2 separate regions of the Homo sapiens genome follow, and region 2 is linked to region 1. Evidence: promoter capture Hi-C in 16 types of primary human blood cells and fetal thymus (Javierre and others, 2016). All regions are on one chromosome and are shown on one strand. The core of a region is centred on a gene start or on the middle of the fragment in contact, and the rest is flanking DNA. Distances in the headings are between cores, read along the strand shown.

Region 1 (4,397 bases), core at 1,384-3,883:
GGGAGAGCAGGACAGGGAGCTCAGCCCCAGCTTAGCATCTGGGATCCCCAGCTCAGCCTGGTGTTCTACACAGCTCTGGGGCCCTGGTCCCAGCCTTTTCAACTCCCTGAAACCAGACCCCGCCCCACCAAAGCTCCCTGGGATCAGAATCACAGATGCAGCCCAGCCCCGCATGGGGTCTGCAACCCAGCACTCAGTTGAGTCATTCAAGTATTCATTGAGTGTCTGCTCCACTCCAGGCAGTGTTTGGGATTATATCAATTGAGATATATTGATGAATAGAACAAAGATCCCTGCCCTCGTGGAACTTACATTCTAGTGGAAGGAGACAGACAAAAGGAAAAAGCAAATTATGTGGTGTGTTAGAAGGCGCTAGGTGCTATAGGAAAAGAAAGCCTAGAGTAGGGTATAGGTGATGAGGGTTGGGGGCTGCAGTTTTGATCTGATAGTCAGGGAAGGCCTTGCTAATAACACAATGTGACCATGGCTTGAACATGACTTTAAGGAGGTGAGGTAGGAGGAGGTGCTCAAGGCCGGGGGAAGCCAGTGCAGCCCCAAGGTGGGAGCATACTGGATGTGCTGGCAGGTGGCAAGGAGGCCGGGGTGGCTGGCAAGGAAGAAGGGACTAGGAGAGGAAAAGGGGCCTCCAGCTCTCAGAGGCCCTGACCCTGGCCCCCTCCCTCTCTGGGAGGCCCTGGCCGCCTCCCAATCCCAGCTCCGCCACACCCCTCAGAGCTTGAGAGCCCCCAGATCCTGCCTTCTATTGCTCCGGGGCTCAGATGGCCCTTTCAAGCCCGAGGCGGGGTCCGGGCCCTCTTGCTTTATGAGATTCTGGTCCTGCTGTGCTGGGGACAGATCTGGAGCAGACTCCCCCAGGCCCCGCACCAACCCGGCCACTGCTGAGGGCCTGCCCTGGCCCACTCTTCTCACTGCCCTACACCAGAGCCTCCTCGCCCTCCCATCCTTGCTGCCCTGTCCCTGCTCCAGGTTTGACACCTGGTCCTCACCACATCTCCCTGACCTCCAGGGATGGCCAGGACCCTCCACTTCTCCAGACCCCCTCCCGCCTTCCTCTGCCGCGGAGGCCCCCCTCCTCATTCTTGCCGCCTCCTGGGCGCTTTTTCCTTCCCCGATGGGATTACAGATCCTGAGGAGGATTACAGGAGATCAGAGGAGGGCTGGGCACTTAGCGGATGGGAAGCACCACTCGGCCCTCCTGCCCCTCTTCCCACAGTCCTTCCCCATTCCCACATCTGAAGGGGGGCCTCTCTTGCCTCCTCCGGGCTCCCAGCCGGTCCCAGCCCCGGGGCAGGGCTGGCGGGGTCGGCAGGGCTCCACCCCTTGCCCGGGTGCCCTCTCCCCGCCGCCCTCACCTGGATCATGTAGAGCTGGGCCACCTGGTACTCGTCCAGGCTCATGGGCAGCAGAATGTGGTATTCCTTGATGAGCATCCTGAAGGCGCTCGGCGGGCCGCGCGCGGCCTCCGCTCCTCCTGGCGCAGGGCACGGCGCGACAGTCAGTGCGGGGAGGCTGCGCGCGGCCCCGAGCCCTGCGCGCCGGCCGAGGGACTCAGGCCACGGGACCCCATGTCCGGGCCCGCCACGAGGGAGGCAGAGGCGAGCCTAGCACCGCCGCCCGCGCCGCCGGGGCCGGGAGCCGCAGCGAGGCTGAGCGCTGACCTCTTTTCCGCGCAGCCCCCGCCCCCCGCCCGCCCGTCGCCATGGCAACCGCGCGCTGACGCGGGCCCCCCGGAGCGCCAGGCTCCGGCCGGCGGGCGGGAGGGCCACCTCACCTCTCCCGCTGCGACCGCGTCCTAACCCCGGGAAACGGCATCCCTCTGGGCGCGCCCCCGAAGCCCCGGGGCCCCTCCTTCCGGGCCCGCCTTCCGCGACCGGCCCCTCGGGGACCCGCCCCTTGCATCCCCTTCCCGGAGTCGGCGGGGTCCCAAGTCCCCCACTCTCGGACGTCCACCTAGAGCTTTGTTCCCCGAGTGTCTCTGCGCGGAGTGGCCCAGTGCGCCCAGCATCTCTGCCAGGGTTCCCCACGCCCTGCACCCGAACCTACCTTCCGGGACCGGTAATCTCCTCCGCCCTCCAGATCTGCCTTCTTGGGCAGCCGGGTCCTCGACCTCCCCCTCCCAGCATCCTTCCTGGACCCCTGGCCCTCGCCGGCTCTCCACGCGCCTAGGCAGCCACTCCGTCCTCTTCCCAGGGGGTGAGCCCTCCTCAGGCTGAGGCCAGAGTGGCTCCACTTGGTATCCCACGGGCCATGGCCCTGGAGACCCGCTCCGTCCACCTGCGCCCCAGACTGGCACCGAGGTTCCGCTGCAGGCACCCCTCCATCCCCCACTCGCACCCCGCGAGCAAGCGAGAGGCCCCGTTGTCCCCACTTCCCTCTGCTCGCCGGCGTCCCGGTCCCCTGCCGCGCTCTTGGCCCGCCTGCCGACGCCCCGGCTCACCTCTAGCTTGAGGCGGGCGCCCCTCACCCAGCCCGGGCAGGGCCGGCCGGCCCGTGGGTCGGAGCCCGGAGCGCCCCCAGCCCCGGCCTCGGGTTCCAGCGGTGGCCGGACCCTCCCGAGGCGCAGTGCCGGCCCATGGCCCCGACCTTCCTCTCGATCCGCCCGCCGGCGCCCCTGCAGTCCCTCCCCGACGCCCGCCGCGTCACTGCGGCCGCCCCGCCCCCTTCCTGGGCCCGGCTGGCCCTCCCCACCCCGGCGGGGTCCGGGCAGCCCCGCCTGCAGCGGAGGAGGCAGGGAGGGAGGCCCCTGCCTTCCTTCCCCCGGGCAGTGGGAAAAAGGCCATTGCCTAAATTCTGGCTCTTCCTAGTCCCTCTGTGCTGATTGGGGTCCCCAAAGACTCTTAGTTCCTATCTCCACCCTAGCCCAGCCCTCCTGTGTGCAGTCACAGGGTGGTTTGATATGGGGGGTCCCAGGCCCACTCTCCTCTTCTCACTCTCTGCAGTCCTTAGATTTGGGACCCAGGGTTGAGGAAATGCCTCCCCACCAGTCTAGCCAGAAGCTGGTGGCTCTGACATGCCTCCACCTAGGGCTGGGCTCGGCTCCAGGGCCCCAGGCCTCTATGGTCACCCAGCTACACGCCCAGGCAGAAACGGGCTGTCACTGTGAGTGGCTGGGCTAGCCCCTGCATGGTGCCACAAAGCCTCCCCCACCTCTGCCTTCCGGGTCCACAAGTCCGGTCACCCAGCCACCCGGAGTCTGGGCAAAGGCCTCACGAGGCACCCCAAGGCTGGGTTCATGGGATCCCACCCAGCCTGCTACAAGGTGCTGGGGCAGTGACGGCAGCACCCCGCCAGCCCCTCCCCTTGACACTGAGGCCAAGTGCTGGAAGCAGCAGTGCCCTTTCTCTCTGAGAAGTCAGAGACCTTCAGGGCTGATTCAGAGGCTGGGGTGTTGTCAGGGCATTAGGGCGTGTGAGGGAGTGGCTTACGTGAACTGGCATTTCCATGCTGCCAGGCATCACCGCCAATCCAGAGGAAGCGCCCTCCAGGCCCAGGCTGCCCACAGCGCCAAGGGCTGTGGAAGCAGCCAGGCCCTGTGCTGCCCCCTGGTGGCACCACAGGAAGGCCCAGGGCTCTCAGCGCCACGGCTGGGGCGGAGAGGGCCCAGGTCCCACCAAAGGCTGATGGCCTACAGAGGCAAGTCAAACCTCATTTAATCACACCCTCCCCATCCATAGTCTCCTCTTCCCCTGTCTCTGCCTGGCCCACCCAGGCTTAGCTGAAGAACCAGACCCAGAAAGGCTCAGAGCTGAGAGCACAACTCCAAATCATCTTTTATTAATATAAAAAGGGCATATTTAGCAAAAGACACACAGATAAAAGAGTCACTATGGCTCAGGACACAAGGCAGGGAGGTGCCAGGCCTGTGCCCCTGCTGGGGGAGAAGGAGGCTCGGGACAAAGTGGGAGAAGTGCTGGGAAGGGCTGAGCGGTAGGGGCCACAAAAGTTCCGGTGGGCAACACTGTCGGCAGGTCATGGGTGGGACTCATGGGGACCTCGCTGCTAACTCTTGTTGTGGGGGGGTGTCCTTAGTGCTGCCACCTGGAGGGCCACTCCTTGGTTCCTGGAGGGGACCCACCAAGGGACACAGGACAGGAAGCCCAGGATGGTTAGTGCAACTCGGGATGAAGGCCAGGGAGAAGCGGGTGCTCTGCAGTGGCCGGATAGGTCCAGACGCTGAGGCCGAGGCGCTTCCTGTTACGTGCGGGCGTTCCGCTCTGTCTCTGCCAGGCACTCTCTGACTAGGGCCCGGGCATGGATGATACCTGGGGGTGGGGTGGGGTCTCAGCAACCCTCCACAGCCCCACCCACTGCCCTCCAGAGGAGGACCCCTGCCTCCCCACTCCCTTTCCACTTTCGGCAAAAGAAATTCAAATCTA
Region 2 (3,978 bases), core at 1,476-3,975, 550 kb before region 1:
CCATTAGTAAACAAATGACGGCTGCTTTCAGGGAGCTTACCAGAACACCATGGGACACAATCTGCAGCTCAGGCCTGCAGCTGGGCCCTCAGAGCCCTGTCTGCCTTTTGGGCTTTTTTTTTTCTTTTTTTTTGACAGGGAGTTTCATGCTGTCGCCCAGGCTGGAGTGCAGGGGCGTGATCTCAGCTTACTGCAACCTTCAACTCCCAGGTTCAAGCAATTCTCCTGCCTCAGCCTCCTGAGTAGCTGGGATTACAGGTGCCCGCCACCAGGCCTGGCTAGTTTTTGTATTTTTAGCAGAGAAGGGGTTTCACCATGTTGGCCAGGCTGGTCTCGAACTCCTGACCTCAGGTGATCCACCCGCCTCGGCCTCCCAAAGTGCTGGGATTACAGGCATGAGCACCGCGCCCAGCCCCGTCTACCTTTGCATCTAATCTTGCTTCCTCAGTTTGGTTTCCAGTCACTGACTTACCTGCACCTTAGCAAATCCTAGTGCCCTCACCTGGTTACATCTCCTGTAGAGGCCTCTTCCCAGTGACCAATCAAGTTTCTTACACCCAACAGTGAAGCTGTTTCCCCCACATTCTCCTTCCACCTTCCTCAGCCTTCCTCTTCCAGTTCTAATTGCTTGAAACCTCTGTAACTGGCCAGGCATGATGGCTCATGCCTATAATCCCAGCACTTTGGGAGGTCGAGGTGGGCGGATCACCTGAGGTCAGGAGTTCAAGACCAGCCTGGCCAACATGGTGAAACCCCATCTCTACTAAAAATACAAAAAATAGCCAGGTGTGGTGGCATGCGCCTGTAATCCCAGCTACTCAGGATGCTGAGGCAGGAGAATCGCTTGAACTCGGGAGGCGGAGGTTGTGGTGAGCTGAGATCACACCGCTGCACTCCAGCCTGGGCGACAAGAGCGAAACTCCATCTCAAAAAACAAAAACAAAAAAACCTCTTTAACAAAACCTCTCCAGAATAAAACTTTCTAGCTGCTGAAATCCAATCACTGTTTCTCCACTGCAGCGGCATCAAAAAGAGGTCCACAACTCACCTCCTCCACGAAGCCTTCCCAAGCCCATCCCCTTCCAGGCCATTTCTCCTCTCTCTCGCTTTAGTGTGTGGTTTGCTGTGATTTACTGGCCTCTACTGAACTTCCTCTTCCATGTCCTCCTAGGGCCAATACCTCACCCACTAGGCTCTCTACAAACATCTGCAGCAGGCTGCCTTGCTGCTTAGGTTTTGTTTATTTTCTCTCTCCCCCAATGGGTTTGTCAGCAGTTGCAGGACAAGGATTGACCTCATCGCCCACGCTGTCTCTCGGCCCAGTGTAGGGATAGGAACACTGTAGGTGTGCAAAAGAATGTGATTAAGAGTTCAACAGTTAAGGAGAGCCTGCAGGCAGGAAGCTGTAGCTGCAAGTGAGAGAAATGCTGAGCACATCCACCCCCAGCACAAGTGTTTGCATCACATACAGGGAAAGGGTGCCTTGGGGGAGGCCAGCCAGGGCTGATGGTGGCAGTGGGTACGGGAGCAATAGGGAGGCAGATGGCAGGCACTCTGGAGGTTCTGGTTGTCATCAGCAAGTGTTGGTACTTCTCTGAGCCTGTTTTCTCAGCTGGAGAACGGGTAAGGAGCCCAGGCCTACCTCTTCTCACAAAATAAAGACACAATCTGATTTTTTAGAATTTCAGACGAGGCACGCCTGTAATCTCAGCACTTTGGGAAGCCAGGGCAGGCCGCTCGCTTGAGCGTAGGAGTTCGAGACCAGCCTGGGCAACATGACGGAACCTCGTCTCTACCAAAAAATACAAAAATTAGCTAGGCGTGGTGGCGCCCGCCTGTAGTCCCAGCACTGGGGGACTGTGGCAGGAGGGTCGCTTGAGCCCGGGAGGTCGAGACTGCAGTGAGCCGAGATCGCGCCACTGCACTCCAGCCTGGGTGGGTGACAGCAAGACCCTGTCTAAAAAAGAAAAGAAAACAAAAGAATCTCAAAGTTGCCAGGGACCTAGGGACTTGGCTTCCGACTCTGATGCGCTTTGTAAACTACTAAAAGCTGGAGAAATAAGGGGCTGAGCCCAGCCCCACCTCCTGAATGAGCGGCCTTGGGCGAATCACTGCGTCTGGGCGCCTGGAGCTTCCCCGTCTGAAACAAAGTAGAGGATCCTACGGGAGGCGGAGTGCGAGAGCAAGGAACAAGGAAAGCCCTCGCCTTACACGCCGCGGCTTCCTGCAGAGCTGAGCCACATCCAGTACGATGGGGACAACTTGGGCTCCCGATCCTGACAGACTTGGGTTCGAACCCTCAGGGACCTCGCGCGAGGCGCTTTAGTCAGTTTCTCCATCTGCAAAATGGGCCCGAGAGCAAGAATGAGGCAGCCCGCAGGCGGACGCTGCGGAGGGGCGCTCGGGGGCTGCAGCCGGGGGCGGGTCCGGGGGCGGGTCCAGCCGGCCGAGCCCCCGCGCGAGGGGGAGGGGCGCCGTCCGCTGCGTCGCGTCGCGCACCGCGCACAGCCCGTCGCTGTCTCCTCCAGCCGTCACTCGCGGAGCCCGCGCCGCCTTTGCGCGCGCGACCCTTACATAAGCGTCCCTCGCAGCGGTGCCGGCGCACGTCCACCCGCTCCGACCCGCCGCGGGAAGAGGACCGTGCGGAGCGCGGCGGACACTCACCTCCTCGCCGTCGCCAGTCCTCGCCGCCGCCTCTACCGCTGCTGCCTCCACTGACAGAGAACAGCTGCGGTCTCCGTGCAACCGAACTTGCTGCAGTCCCGGCCCCGCCTTACGGACTTCCTATTGGCCCAGACAGCCCAACCCCTCCCGTTATTGGGCAGTGTTCTCCGTCACTCCTCGCCCCTAGGCTCTGGACTCCTCCCTGTGCCCGCCTGTCCGTCACGTTTAAGCCTTGGCGCCCCACGTCAGCCCCGCCCCTCCCGTCCCCGGCGAGCGCCTGGATAAGTGGCGAGGCTGGGAGAGCCCGCCCCTGGCGCACCACCGCCTACTCCCTTGTCTCCGGAGCCTCACGTGGGCCGCCGGACCCTAGCCGACGCCCGCAATAGGCGGAAGTGGCCGGGCTGTGGCTCGCAGTTATTGGCTGTCGGCGGGGGTGGGGACGTTCGATTCATTCACCCGAGTAGCACGTGTCTCCCGAAGCTGCAAGCACAACAGTTCGCACTGGGGCTCAGGCATCCCGGCTAGACGCAGATACGCGCTGGCTAGCGGAGAAGAGGTCGCAGGAAAAGCTAACGTTAGCGAAGGGCAGGAGGAAGGAGAAGGCGCTTGTGCCACACGGGTTACATGACTATGTCCTTTAACAGCTGCGTAGATGATGATGGGGGTCTACAGTACGTCTGTGTGACCTTGGGCAAGCAACTTAACCTCTGAGTCTCGGTTTTGTCATCTGCAGAGCGAAGCTACTCAGGACCTAGGGGGTTTGGAAGCCTTGTTTGAGACACAAGACACTTGACAAGACCCAAGACACTTGTCAAAGAGGAAAGCTTTGACAAGTGGAACAAGTGACTGAGGCATAAGTCTCTGTCATCGAGGCTTATTAATCCAGTTTGAGGGCGTGCTCGGGAAAAACACGAACCACAGACACATCCGTGGTTGTTTTTCCGAAGAGGTTTTCGGGAGGTTTAGTATTTATGCATTTCCTTAAAGGGGGAATGAGGGGAAGGCATGTAGGAAGAAGGGCAAGTAGGCGATTAGGACAATAGTTACATTCCTATGGGACTTTAGCTAATGCCCGGTAAATCTACGTAAGATGAGATGAATGTCTGAAGAGAAAAAGAGAGTAAAGGAAGAGTCAGTTATGCAGATGTCTCTGAGTAGGTAGTTTTGACTTTGTTCTGCACCTGGGAAAATAAGCTTGTAATGACATTCTTATTGTGGAATTTTTAGGAGCTAGACTTAGATTGTAGACCTGAAGCTACAATTGACCTGTCCTTGTTTATGGGAGGCCAGCAAGAATTTACTTGTGAATGATCT

The links. Contacts are between HindIII fragments. The CHiCAGO score rates a contact against its expected background, and 5 or more counts as called.
Region 2: a contact is called between the fragment with the promoter of PC here and the fragment with the promoter of PITPNM1 in region 1, in 1 of 17 cell types (non-activated CD4 T cells). The highest score is 5.5, in non-activated CD4 T cells.

Annotation. Positions count from the first base shown.
Region 1 is chr11:67,502,730-67,507,126 of GRCh38, forward strand. PITPNM1 (phosphatidylinositol transfer protein membrane associated 1) reads right to left here and starts at 2,634. Exons shown (of 24, transcript NM_004910.3): 1 at 2,459-2,634; 2 at 1,374-1,492. The coding sequence starts at 1,451. CDK2AP2 (cyclin dependent kinase 2 associated protein 2) reads right to left here. Exons shown (of 4, transcript NM_005851.5): 4 at 3,768-4,283. The coding sequence ends at 4,216. RefSeq lists enhancers at 343-1,092, 1,093-1,842 and silencers at 1,621-1,720, 1,801-1,920, 1,931-2,090, 2,301-2,930. The HindIII fragment of the contact is 23,305 bases long and covers 1-4,397 here.
Region 2 is chr11:66,955,658-66,959,635 of GRCh38, forward strand. It overlaps PC (pyruvate carboxylase), which reads right to left and starts at 2,726. Exons shown (of 23, transcript NM_001040716.2): 1 at 2,665-2,726. RefSeq lists enhancers at 1,141-1,520, 2,684-2,733 and silencers at 2,384-2,483, 2,804-3,163. The HindIII fragment of the contact is 4,821 bases long and covers 1-3,486 here.